4 separate regions of the Homo sapiens genome follow, and regions 1, 2 and 4 are each linked to region 3. Evidence: promoter capture Hi-C in 16 types of primary human blood cells and fetal thymus (Javierre and others, 2016). All regions are on one chromosome and are shown on one strand. The core of a region is centred on a gene start or on the middle of the fragment in contact, and the rest is flanking DNA. Distances in the headings are between cores, read along the strand shown.

Region 1 (3,278 bases), core at 314-2,813, 590 kb after region 3:
ATTGATGGAAAACAAGGGAAGAAGAAACTAGGGGCAGCTAGTATTCAGCCAGAAAGTAAAATTATATACATTATTGCAGCAGTAATGCATTTATAAGCTGAATAAATCAAATCTAATTTTGTGACTAGTTCTGACATGATATGAATTTAAAGAAACTACTACCAAATTCAGTTTAATAAAAATTTTAGCATTTCTATGACCTTGAGTATTTGGATTAGGTTTAAATTAGAATCGCAGTTTTCTTCCTTTTCTTGTAAATAGGCAAAGTAAATTTAATGTAAAAATTTGAAACTCGCTTTAATTTTTGAAAATGCAATTATTGGCAATTTTTGACCTTAGTAATTTCCATGCTGTTACCCAGGGATCAATTTAAATAATATTCATACCCTGGATGATGCCAACCATCAGGTAAGTCTAGTCTCTTACCTGACTCTTTTGAAATATTAAGGTATTTTGAGAATGCTCTGTAATCTAATGTGTTTTTCTTTCTGTTTCAATTGAGCAGTAATTCCCTACCTTGCTTAATTCTAAAATGGACATCATATCTTCATTCTTAAATGGAAGGTAAAATAGAGGTTACTATAGGGTTATTTTAGGGCATAAATGCCTATGGTATTGTATGTCAGTTTGGGAAGTTTGCCTTCACGCCTTCAAGTGTACAGGGAGATAGTTACTCCTTCAATGTGTGAAATGATTCTGTAGTGCCCTTCCTGCACTGAAGGGGGAAGAAGAATCTGAAACATAACACCAGAGGACTAGGTATGTTTGGAGAATTAAATAACTATTTCACAGCCAGACAACACTACAGACAGCTGCAAATAGAGAAAAGAAGGAAAACTTTTAAGATACGTGGATGTAAGCTTTCATTCTTACATCAATGGAAGTGATGATAGCAGTCAGCAGGTCAGTTCGATGCTCAGTGATAAGAAATAACAGGGTTATTTCAAGGTAAGGTAATCAGGCTCTAAGTTGCCAAGAACAGTAATTCATGTACTTGCTGGTTTCAGTTCAGAAGTTGCATAACATTCAAATATTTCTTACCTTGTCACTTTAATAATTCAGTGGAATTATCTTAATTTAGTGTGCTATGTTACCATTACTAAATTGGGGATGTTACATGATGGTGATCTTCAATTAAACTTAGGAATGTTGCAGACATTTTCTTCATCATTGACCTGTTGTTTTTCCTTTTCATAATTCAGATTTGTTTGATATACCAATAAATGTTGGCTATATCACTGATCATTTTATTATTCATAGTCTTGATAACATTATAGTTTATTATGACTCATATATAATGATTCATTGCAGCTGATAAAATGTTGTTAGGGATTGTATTGTGAGATTTTATTACTACCAAATATATAAATTAAAATGTGGAAGTGTCTGAGTTATTGTAAGTCATGTGATTGCAAAGCATTTTTCCTGAATGGAATAATGCCTGGTGACTGGGTGGGTGCCAATCCAGGTAGCTAGATATAGAATAATACAGTCTTCACAAAATCCAGAACTCACAATATAGGGTAGGGAGGGAGGGGGCCAGGGGAAGCACCTTTCTTTGACATCTGAGGCATGTTTGACTTCTATAGTTTCCTCTCCACTAAATATAAATTGGGTGAGTTGCAAATATTTAATGGTGTTAGTACTGCTCTTCCTTCATCTGTGCCCCTACACTGCCCCCACCACCCTGCCACAACACACACACACTATGCCATCACCACATCTGTGAGCTTGGCAAGGCAGAGGAAGCTCCTTATGGCCTGAGACCATGTACATAAAATGTAGACATTGGTGTCCTGTATTCCAGGTTGAATTTAAAACAGGTATGGGGTTTGACACAAAAATGATACTGTATATGAAGGTTAGGTAAAATATGTATTTGAAGTGAGGCTATCAGGGTACTATGCAGGCTTTTGGGGCCTGGCCCGAAACTTGGAATGCAGTTTTTCATAGAAACCCACAATCAGTTTACAAATAGACTTTTGAAACACTGGCTAGGTGGTATCTGAAGTTTTGGCCCATTGCAAGCTGTGTCTGAATTGCAAGCATGAGGGAAGTAAAAAGCATCCCAAATCAGAAATTAGGAGATCTGCCATTAAACCTTATTACCTTGACAAACCATTTAATGTTTGGATGATAGCTTCCTCCTTTTAAAAATACAATTTGGATTATATTGATCTAAGTTATATTTTAGCTCAAGATTCCTGAAGTTCACAGTGGTTTTTAAAAATTTTTCTTAAGAAAAAAAAAAGAACAAAAAACTTTTCCAAGCTTGAATATACATAATCAGCCCTGTTTCCCCTTGTACCTCAAATCATGGCAACAAGGAAGTTGAATTTCTCTTTTGAGACTTTTGAACCTTCTTCACATTCATTTTTAATTGTTTTGTTTTAAAACAATATCATTTTGGGAAGTGAGGGGAAGGGATGAAGCACATGTTTTCAAAGTCTTGCTGTCTGCCTCTACCCTAGTCTGAGATTACATATGGTAGTTTTGGCCAGGGAAAGTGCTTGGGATTTCACCTTCATACTCAGTGAGGCTCATGAAGTGTCATTAAGGTAGTGAGGTGTCATGATTAGCAGCCTTACTGTCAGGGTCCAATTCTGGCACTGCAACTTGCTGGCTGTGTAACCTGGCAGATTGTATAATCTCTGTGGTCCTCGTTTTGCTCATCTGTAGGATGGAGTGATAAAAGTACCCACTTCATATGGTTGTTGGGGAGATTAAATGAATTAATACATGTAAAGTGCTTACAACAGGAGCTGGTTCAGAGCCAGCGCTTAATACATTGAAATAATTATTTTTACATTGTGGTGCTTTTATGATGGTTTCTGCAGCATTTACCAAATGCCAGGGAAATTATTGGCTTGCTTTCTGTGTGGGTTTTGTCAAAATGATTATGGATTTCAACAGGATATTTCAGAGAAGAAATAAACTGCTGAACAGAAACCATTGTGAGCTTGATAGTTTGCAGGACATTGTAGAAAAGAGAATCCAGCACAGTAATTAAGGGCCTTTTTAAGTAGGGAAGTTGTAGCTTCTTGCGGTAGGCAATACTTAGAGAGGCATTAACCACCGCTAGCCAACAAGTATAGGAGAATGTATACAATTATTGCGTTTGTAATCCCAGGTAGTAGTCATTTTATAAAATGTCTTTGCTAGTCAGTACATGAATAAAGCGTTAGAAAGTGTTCATCATTTAACACCATTTGCCCAAATGCAGCTTGTAAATTAACTCTTTAAGCTGGCTTTTCTGTCTGAAAGTGATCACAGTTGAA
Region 2 (3,144 bases), core at 259-2,758, 610 kb before region 3:
TTCAGAAAAAGGCAGTGTGCTCCCTCAAAATGTGTGTATTTGCATTATGGGTAATCGTAGGTTCTCACATGAGTTTTTCAGCATGAAGCTCACAAAATATTTTTACATCCATTATCTCATCAAATCTTCACCACTGTTCTGTGATGAAGGCATTGTAATCTTCATCCTAAAAGTGAGGAAACTAAGGTTCTAGGGGCCTAACTGACTTGCCCATGGCCATAGGGCCAATAAATGCTAGAATGAACTAAAAACTTAGTCTCTTGTCATCTTTCTCAAGTCCAGAGTCTTTCTGTCCACCACAGTAGTATGTCAGCTAAGTGCAGGATAGTGAAACTCCCCACATTAGAGGCCCCATTTGTTTTTAGAACTTGGATTGGCTGCAGTAATCTAAGCCTAGATTCCCCCCCAAGACAAAGAGATTGGATTAATTTTTTAAGTATAGCATGGGACCAGTAGACTCTAAATACCTAATTTGTATAATAAATAGGCATATAGAATATAAATGTGATTTCTTAGCCTCAAAAAAGTTACAAACCTAGAAATATCTGGCATTCAAATTAGACTTTAGCAGCAATTTCTCCTCCCATGATATAGGCAGAAATTAAGGAAAAACTGAAATAAAGGAAACTTGCTTGAATTAGGTTGGTGTAGGATAACTTGAAATGGTTTTTACAACCTATGCCAACTAGATGACATAGTGTCTGCCCAGAATATTCTCCATTCTCCTCAAGCCCCTACCCTATTACATTAGCAAGTAACCTTTCTTCCAGTATGAAAGACTAGAGTAAGAGTTTAAAATGCTGAAAGCTTTGCGGGGGTTTCCCACTGTTCCTTTGAACAAAACAAGCACACTAGTTTTGCTAGATACCCGGAAACATGTTTAATCTGTTTAGTAATGCAGGAGAACAGGTCTCTGTAAATGTCAGAGTGCCTTGACATGTCAGTCACCCCAAATCAAGGCACACCCTGAAACTTTGTATTGGAAATCTCAGGCATCTCTTTTGGGTCCCTCTTTCCCATCCTGTAATATTGCTTTTACCAGGCACTAATATGATCTGTACCATATAATCTTCCACAGAATTTCTTCATTGTAATTCTTTAAACACATCTAAGATATATATTTGTCAACAATTGGCAGAGGTACTACTTATTTGCTGGGATATTAGCATCTAGTGGAATCTCTCATGATCTGCCCATGTAGGGTACTAATAGTGAAATTAAGGCACCATGACATAATCGGGGGAATAGAGGATTAGATATTTGGTGATTAGAGGTGTCTTCCCCAAATCTCTCAAATTTCTGAGAATTTTTCTTACCTCCAATTTTAGACTGTCTAGCACTTTTTAGAACTTCCTTCTAAAAAGGACAAAAACTCTACTAATTTAAAATATAGGAAGAGTCATTTGCATGAGCCTGCTTAGTTAACTCCTCCTGATACAATTCCTTTTGTCACTGGATGTTTCTCAGACCAACCAAATTTTAACCATAAAGCAACTCTCAGGACTTCACAGCCGGGCTTGTTGGTTTATGCCGAATTTGTGTAATTGATCCTTTCTTTTCAGAACTGATTTGATTTTTTTTTCAGCACCAAATACCATTAAAAAAAATGTAACTGTGAAATGTGAATTTCTCATTAATTTATATTATAAAGTTAGAGATGAGGAAGTCATAGGCTGTAGCTGTTTTCTTCTGTACCCTCCCTTTCACTCAGGCTATTAAACTCCCCTTAGCTTTACTTCCTCTTTCCCTGACCCAGAGCCCATGCCGGAACATTCAACCACCTTACACCAGTCCCCTCAAACCTCACTACCCATTCTCTTTCTACCTCATGTGCTCTGATATCCCTTAGACTCATATTAATCCAGCAATTTGCTTTATCTCTTCTTACACGCAGGCTGGCAGGCACTGGTGGAGCAAATCATATATTGAAATTTCATAAAATTTTGGCATCTCCAGTTTCAGGAAAGTGCTCACTGCCCCTCTGAAATCCTAGCTAGCTGGCCAGCATTCTCTCCCATTGCCCATAGTATCTGTCCAAAATATTCTCCATTCTCCTCAAGCCCCTAGCCTATTACATTAACAGATAACCCTTCCTCCAGTATGAGCTATGAATATTTTCAACTTCTCATCCCATGTGCATAAATATATTTGTATACGTTACCACCTTTTTGTACTTTCTATCTCAAAGGGAAATATTTCTTCCACTATTTAAGCTTTAAGTTCCATCTCATCTCCATCCATTCATTCATGCATTCAATACATATTTATCAAATATTTATTGTGTAACTGTGCTGGAAGCTTGTGGTACTGTAGTAAGCAAGGCAGATTTGTCCTACCCTCAGAAAATTTTGGATGCAGAAGATAAGGAAATAAGATTGATAGATGAATGCTGTGACAGAAACACAATAATAGAGAATAATAAAAGAATAGTTAATTTTGAGAGGGTAGGCCAGGTGCAGTGGCTCACGCCTGTAAACCCAGCACTTTGGGAGGCTGAGGCGGGTGGATCACAAGGTCAGGAGATCGAGACCATCCTGGCTAATATGGTGAAACCCCGTCTCTACTAAAAATACACAAAAATTAGCCAGGCGTGGTGGCAGGTGCCTGTAGTCCCAGCTACTCAGGAGGCTGAAGTAGGAGAATGGCGTGAACCCGGGAGGCGGAGCCTGCAGTGAGCAGTGATCACGCCACTCCACTCCAGCCCAGACTCTGTCTCAAAAAAAAAAAAAATGTGAAAGCGTTGTCAGAGACGGCATCTCTATGAAGGGAATATTTAAGATAGGAACTAAAGGAATAGAAGCAGCCAGCTGCGAAGACATGGGAAGGGTAGCAAAAATGCTAGAAGTTAAGCAAATAACAAAAGCTGGAGTGTTCTTCAGGGAACTGAAAGAAGGCCAAGGTGGAGTGTGTGAGGGGAGAGTGGAATGACAGGCAGTTGGAAAGTTGAGCAGGGGTCCTATACACTAAAGAATTTGGATTTTTTTCCTTTTCACTTTGTCCCATAGAAATTGACTGAGGATTTTAAACAGAAGAGTGGTGTTGATCTGACAAACTGTGGAAGTAGTGTCCCTTTAGGAGACTCCAGCAATAATCCTGGAGAAAGAGAGTGGATGCTCAAGAGCTAGGGGAGGCAACTGTGGAGGT
Region 3 (3,460 bases), core at 289-2,788:
ATCTAACTCTTATCATACATCCCTCAAAAAAGAAAGAAAAGCCCAATAAAATTGACAAGTCCATTGTATTACCTTGCTGCCTCTCTCCAAAAGCCAAATTCATGACAACTTTTTAACCAAGACTTTTCTTCTGTTACTAAGTGGAACGTTTTCTTCTCTAAGTAGCTTTTCTCCCATGCAAGCAGCGTTCAAATCTCCAGGGGAAAGGAGGGGTGGGGAGGGGGTGGGAGACTATCTGGCACAAACTGGACAGAGCCGAGCCAGTCTAGAACCCGACGGAAGTTACTGAATCCAGCGGCCCCAGAGGCCCACATCTCTTCTTAGTGCGCCCGAGGTTCTAGCCTCACTGTTTTGGTTACAGTGTTGAAGGAAGGGTTTTAAACTTGGCAAAGTACCGTGCAACATCTGTAACCACATTTGCCTTCTGGGGATCGGAAGATGAATCCCACATTCCTGGCTTTGAAGCTTTTTGAAACTGCAGCTAGGAAGAACCGAGGGAGGGAGGGAGTTGAGCAGAGTTTATTGGCTGTCTCTCCAGCAGAAAATTCCTCTTGGAAGAGATGGATATTTTGAGGGTGGGGGAAATTCGCCTATCTATCTCCTTACTCTCTACAAGCTCAGCTAGGAAGGTAAGCCCCGTGGCCCCGCGGCCAGATCGATTTACAAGTCAGAGTCGCACACCCTGAAGGAGTTCACAACACACACACACACACACACGCACTCACACACACCCCAATACAAACCTGAGACCCCCGCTCCACGCCTCTGCCCCCCCACCCCCCATATCCCACCAGCAGTTCAGGCCCAAAGCAAGACAGTTTTGTTCCGCGGCTGCTTCCCCCACGGAGAGGGGATCAAGCTTGGGGGAGAAAGGAATGAAAGCGAGGGGGAGGCACCGCAGACGCCCACCCTGCCACCCCCGATCCCTGCCTCTTCTCCCGCTAGGCTACCTCCTCCCTCAGTCCTCCCGGCTCCAGCAGGCGCGGCCGGCGACCTGCGCTCACCTCGGGTCCCGCCGCGGCCGGGGGCTGAGCCGGGGGAGGCGGAGTGCGAGGCAGCCGGGCGCTGCAGGTCGGCGCGGCGCGGGGCGGCGCGGGGCGGGGCGGGGCGGTGCAGCCGGCGAGGGAGCCCGGAACTCTGCGGGGCCGGGAGCCGGGGGCCGAGGGCCGGCCCAGAGCGGCGGCGGCTGCGGTGGCTGCAGCGGAGCGGTGCGTGGGGCCGGGAGCTTCCCGGCCCTGGGGCCGGCGCGGCTGGCCGAGGAGCAGGCTGGCAGCGGCAGCGGCGGCAGCGGCAGCCACCCGGGGGAAAGAGCCGGGGGAGGGCGGGGAGGCGGGGTGAAGAGGAGGAGGAAGGGGAGGAGGGCGGGCAGAATAAACTTCCCGAGGCGCAGAGGCTCGGGCTGGGAGCACGACCGCGGGCGGGGCGGGCGGACCAGCTGGGCTTGCCCCCGGGGGCGGCGGGGGAGACCGTCACAGAGAGTAGAAAAGTTCCCCCTGCGCCGAGGGGGAGGCTGCGGCGGCGGCGGCGGCTGCAAAGAGCAGGAGCCGGAGCGGGAGGAGCGGGAGGAGGAGGAGGAGGAAGTGGCTGCGGAGCGCTCGGCCAATGAGTGTCTGGAGCTGTGATTAACCAGGCAGCAACACATCATTTCCTCCCGGCGCGGATCCAGGGAGCCGGGAGGGGAGAGAGGAGGCGGCGGGGCGGGGCCGTCCCCGCGCCCCCTGCAGGCGCCCGGCCGAGGGCGAGCCCGCCGAGCCCCGCCGAGCCTGACCGCGCCGCCCCCGGCGCGCCTGGCGCTGTCTGGCCGGTCGCTTGGCCCGGGTGGAAGCTATGAGCGCGCCGCCAGCGGGGCTCCTCGGAGGCGGCGGGGCAGGCCCGAGCTGGGCTCCTGTGGCCGGGGTGGGAGGAGAAGAGGCCGCGCGGCACGGGTGAGTGCCCAGGTAGGCGCGGGCGGGGCCGTCTGGACAGCTCCCGAGGGCGCGCGGGGCAGGCGGGCGGACGGGCGGGCATCCCGGGCCCGGCGACTGCGGGCGGCCACCTACTCGAGCCCTGCATGTCAGACTTGGGCTGGATTCTCAGAGAGAAGCCTTAGCATTCTCATCCAGGCCATCTCTGACCTGCCTTCAGATCCCCTTCCACTTTGCTCATTTCCTTGCAAGGTCTAGGGTTATGACAGAGCTTGCCATGTTCGCCTTTGGCTTCCTTAGTAACAGAAATAAGCATGGAGGGGCTTCTGCAGTGATCTAGCCCTGTCCTAGGCGCCATGGGAGCTTACAGTGGAAATGCAGGAACATTCTCCGCTGCAGAGAGTCTGATAACCTCGGTCCTTAGATACACAAAAACACCCCAGTGTGCTAATATTACCCAGAGCATCAAAAAGGCATGCAAGGATCAAATTTTGCATGGTTCCTGCTGAGTGTAAAGGAAAGCACTAAGCCATTTTCTCTGCCCTCTAGAAGCTTATAATGTACAGTCCTATCACAAAGCAGAATAAAAACATGAAACCTATAAATGGGAATGCCATAAAGTATTTTTATCTCTACAGGTTCATTCATGCAGAGGGCATTTATTGGGTGACTGCAGTACTGCAAAAGGTTGCAAAGGAAATGGAAGATCTGGTCCCTGCAGGTTGGGAGTTTACAATCTAATTAGAAATACAAGGCATATATACGTGAAAAAACTAGAATCCCCAGCTGTAAGCAAAAGGATGGAGTAGGTGGGAGCATTTTTTTCATAAAGAGAGCTTTGTACCTGTATGATTGGTGAGGAGCAGGAGAGGCAAGTTCAGTACCAATCAAGGCAAGAGCACCTATATGTATCCCTGCTCTATAGAATGATGTAACAGGGCCCTCATTGTCACTTGGCTGAAGTGTCAGCTCTGCCACTTACAAACTGTTTTGAACTGGGGCACATTTTTAACCTAAGAAGGGAATACAGGTTGTCTCGTGAGGTGGTTGTGCAGTTCAAATGAGATTACAAACGTGAAAGCTTGTGAAGCTCAATGATGTACATTCATGGAGTCCTCATTGTACAAACTGGCCCTTCTTGGTAACCTTTAGAGTTCCCTCCCAGGCTGTAAGCTGCAAGAGGGCAGGGACCAGGTCTGATTGTATTCATCATGTATCACAATGTTTAGCAGAAGGGTTCATGTGGGTGTTCAATAAAGTTTTGCTGAGTAGGTAAATAAATGAATTAATGAATCCTGTTATGCTCTGAACAGTTCCTATTATTTGTTCCTTAAGCAGTTCCTTCAATAGTGGTCTTATTGTATGGCTGGCTCAGTGAAAAACACTCTAACTCAACCTCCTGTGACTTACTAGTGTGCCAGGAGACTGGGAGAATTCTGGATGGTACTGTCAGAGGCATTCAAACCAGAGAAACTCCATTTTGAATGAGGGCTAGGAAAATGAGACTGAGACTGGCTGGGCTGCATTCTCGGGAAGTTAGGCTTTCTTAGCCTCTA
Region 4 (3,351 bases), core at 422-2,921, 530 kb before region 3:
ACTCTAGTCTTCCTTACCCCCAAAATCCAGTTTGCAGATAGGAATGAACAACTGCCTGTCCCCCTCATGACACCAACACAACAAAAAGAGTCATCCCAGTTATCCCTTTACTTGTGGGTCTAGAACTTTTCTGCCTCCACTATTGCACTTGGAACTGGAATAGCAGGCATATCAACTTCTGTCACAACATTCTGCAGCCTCTATAATGACTTCTCTGCTAGCATTACAGATATATCACAAACTTTATCTGTCCTCCAAGCCCAGGTTGACTCTTTAGCTGCAGTTGTCCTCCAGAACTTCTGAGGCCTCAATTTACTCACTGCTGAAAAAGGAGGTCTCTGTATGTTTTTAAATGAGGAGTGTTGTTTTTACCTAAAACAATCTGGCCTGGTATATGACAACATAAAAAAACTCAAGGATAGAGCCCCAAAACTCGCTAACCAACAAAATAATTATGCTAAACTCCCTTGGGCACTCTCTAATTGGATGTCTTGGGTCCTCCCAATTCTTAGTCCTTTAATACCTCTTTTTCTCCTTCTCTTATTTGGACCTTGTGTCTTCCGTTTAGTTTCTCAGTTCATACAAAACTGCATTCAGGCCATCACCAATCATTCTATATGACAAATGCTCCTTCTAACAACCCCACAACACCAACCTTTACCCCAAAATCTTTCTCCAGTTTAATCTCTCCCACTCTAGGTTCCCATGCTGCCCCTAATCCCACCTGAAGCAGCCCTGAGAAACATCACCCATTATCTCTCCATACCATCCCCCAAAATTTTCACCACCCCAACACTTCACCACTACTTTGTTTTGTTTTTCTTATTAACATAAGAAGACAGGAATTTCAGGCCTCTGAGCCCTAGCTAAGCCATCATATCCCCTGTGACCTGCACATATATATCCAGATGGCCTGAAGCAACTGAAGAACCACAAAAGAAGTGAAAATAGCCAGTTCCTGCCTTAACTGATGACATTCCACCATTGTGATTTGTTCCTGCCCCACCCTAACTGATCAATTGACCTTGTCACATTCCTTCTCCTGGACAGTGAATCTCAGGAGCTCCCCACTGAGCACCTTGTGACCCCTGCCCCTGCCCACAAGAGAACAACCCCCTTTAAGTCTAATTTTCCACTACCTACCCACATCCCATAAAACTGCCCCACTCCTATCTCCCTTTGCTGACTCCTTTTTTGGATTCAGACTGCCTGCACCCAGGTGATTAAAAAGCTTTATTGCTCACACAAAGCCTGTGTGGTGGTCTCTTCACATGGACGCACATAACAGTAATCAGATGAGAAGTCACCACTTCCATTCCTACAATAACAACAACAAGCTAGATAAACAAAAACAATGACTTTTCTTGGACCCATCAAATAACTGAAGTTTCAGGGCAAAACACTACCCCAAATTTGGAGAGACAGGTGTATCTAGAGACACAGGTGGGATCTGCTTACGTGGAAAAGAAGCTGCTGGGATCTACTTACCTGGAAAAGAAGGTGCTGGAGCCATAAATTGTTAGGAGCATTTACATGGTAATGTTGGCAAATTGCTGGAGGCTGTGTGTGGACTCATGTGAGAAAAAAAGCTCAGGGGGGCCACCGTTCTAAGGGTACCCTCACACATTTGTGAGCTTTACCTCCAAGAACATGGCCAAATTCTCATAGTAAGGATGTGAGAAAGATCCTTCCCTGGATTTGGCAGGAAAAGAGGATGAAATCCCCTTGGAGAGTTCTCCATAACAAAGGCCTACTTTGCAGGGTGAAAGACTTTCCCAGAGCCTTATTCCAGAAGGAAGGGAGGAAAGGCATTCCTCTCTCTCCCCTGTCTTCTCTAGCTTTCTAGTCCCCACTAAGGGAAAAATTTAAAAGCTATGCCACTGGAGAAACACTTGTGAAGCTGACAGTTCAGAAACATGCCCCCAACCCCCACAAAAGATGGAGTTTTAACAAGATTATGGAATGCTTCTACCTCCCAGAACCTTCTCACCTCAGCAATAGGGCTCCCGTATGACAGTGGATTACAGTTGAAAAATCTGCAAAACAGAGATTCTGAGAAGTACTTAGGGAAGCCTAAAGTCAAGGTGAGAGACAAAATTAAGGAAGAATCTGAAGCTTCTGACATCCACACCAATAGCAAACAGTAAACATAGCCCAGCACTTAGCCAGATTAACATAAATCCTCACAATAAAGGCCTACTTGCCTATTTGTCTATTTTCCTCTCTGGTTTGAACAAAAAATTACAAAGCAGGCCAAGAAAAAACAAACACACACAGTCTAAGGAAACAAAGCAATCACGAGAATCAGGCTCAGCTATGACACAGATGATGATATGATCAGACATGGAATTTACAATATCATAACTATAATTAATACGTTAAGGGCTTTAATAGAAAAAGTAGACAACATGAAAGAAGAGATGAGTAAAGTAAGCAGCGAGATGGAAACTCTAAGAATCAAAACAGATGATCAAAATAAAAAACAAAGACAGCTGAGAAAAAAACTATCAGTGAGATTGAAGATCATCAATAGCAAACTGAAATGCAAAGAGAAAAAAAGAATTTTTTAAAAATCACATATCCGCTAAGAACTGTAAACAATTTTAAAAGCTATAACATACATGTAATTGGAATATCAGAAGGAAAAAATTAAAGAGAACAGAGAAAAAGAAATAGCTGAAGTAGTAATGGTTAAAAACTTTCCAAAATTAATGACAGTCACCACATCACAAATTCAGGAATATCAGAGAATATCAAGCCAAATAAATACCAAAAACAAAACTAACTGCAGAAAACCAGACACGAAGAAAATATTATGAAAGAAGCTAGAGGGGGAGAAAACTTTGCCTTAGATGAATGAAAATAACAATTATAATAGACTTCTCATCAGAAACTATATAAACAAAAGGACAGTAGCATAAAATATTTAAAGTCTTGAAAGCAAAAAAACCCAACAAGCTTGAATTCTATATCCAGTCAAATTGTCCTTCCAAAGTGAAGGAGAGCCGGGTATGGTGGCTCACACCTGTAATCTTGGCACTTTAGGAGGCCAAGGCAGGCGGATAACCTGAGGTCAGGAGTTCAGATCAGCCTGGCTAACATGACAAAACCTCATTTCTACTAAAAATACAAAAATTAGCCAGGCATGGTGGCACACGCCTGTAGTCCCAGCTACTCGGGAGGCTGAGGCAGGAGAATTGCTTGAACACAGGTGGTGAAGCTTGCAGTGAGCCAAGATCATGCCATTGAACTCCAGCCTGGGTGAAAGAGCAAGACTCCATCTTAAAAAAAAAAAAAAAAAAAAAAAAAGGCCGGGTGTGGTGGCTCATGCCTGTCATCCCAGCACTTTGG

The links. Contacts are between HindIII fragments. The CHiCAGO score rates a contact against its expected background, and 5 or more counts as called.
Region 1: a fragment that was not itself captured here is called in contact with the fragment with the promoter of ACVR1 in region 3 in 2 of 17 cell types (fetal thymus and non-activated CD4 T cells); the score reaches 6.7 in fetal thymus.
Region 2: a contact is called between a fragment that was not itself captured here and the fragment with the promoter of ACVR1 in region 3, in 1 of 17 cell types (activated CD4 T cells). The highest score is 5.0, in activated CD4 T cells.
Region 4: a contact is called between a fragment that was not itself captured here and the fragment with the promoter of ACVR1 in region 3, in 2 of 17 cell types (total CD8 T cells and total CD4 T cells). The highest score is 5.8, in total CD8 T cells.

Annotation. Positions count from the first base shown.
Region 1 is chr2:158,460,137-158,463,414 of GRCh38, forward strand. All of the region lies in intron 1 of PKP4 (plakophilin 4), which reads left to right. Among named protein-coding and RNA genes, the nearest start is that of PKP4, 4.8 kb to the left of the region's middle. The HindIII fragment of the contact is 1,411 bases long and covers 859-2,269 here.
Region 2 is chr2:157,268,387-157,271,530 of GRCh38, forward strand. All of the region lies in intron 1 of GALNT5 (polypeptide N-acetylgalactosaminyltransferase 5), which reads left to right. Among named protein-coding and RNA genes, the nearest start is that of GALNT5, 12 kb to the left of the region's middle. The HindIII fragment of the contact is 1,406 bases long and covers 806-2,211 here.
Region 3 is chr2:157,874,792-157,878,251 of GRCh38, forward strand. ACVR1 (activin A receptor type 1) reads right to left here and starts at 1,539. Exons shown (of 11, transcript NM_001111067.4): 1 at 1,005-1,539. It overlaps LOC105373714 (a long non-coding RNA gene), which reads left to right and starts at 1,793. Exons shown (of 2, transcript XR_923518.3): 1 at 1,793-1,925. RefSeq lists silencers at 1,011-1,220, 1,311-1,360, 1,371-1,590, 1,651-1,890, 1,911-2,100 and an enhancer at 1,486-1,780. The HindIII fragment of the contact is 1,597 bases long and covers 858-2,454 here.
Region 4 is chr2:157,344,161-157,347,511 of GRCh38, forward strand. No RefSeq gene overlaps it. Among named protein-coding and RNA genes, the nearest start is that of ERMN, 20 kb to the left of the region's middle. RefSeq lists an enhancer at 1,349-2,201. The HindIII fragment of the contact is 884 bases long and covers 1,230-2,113 here.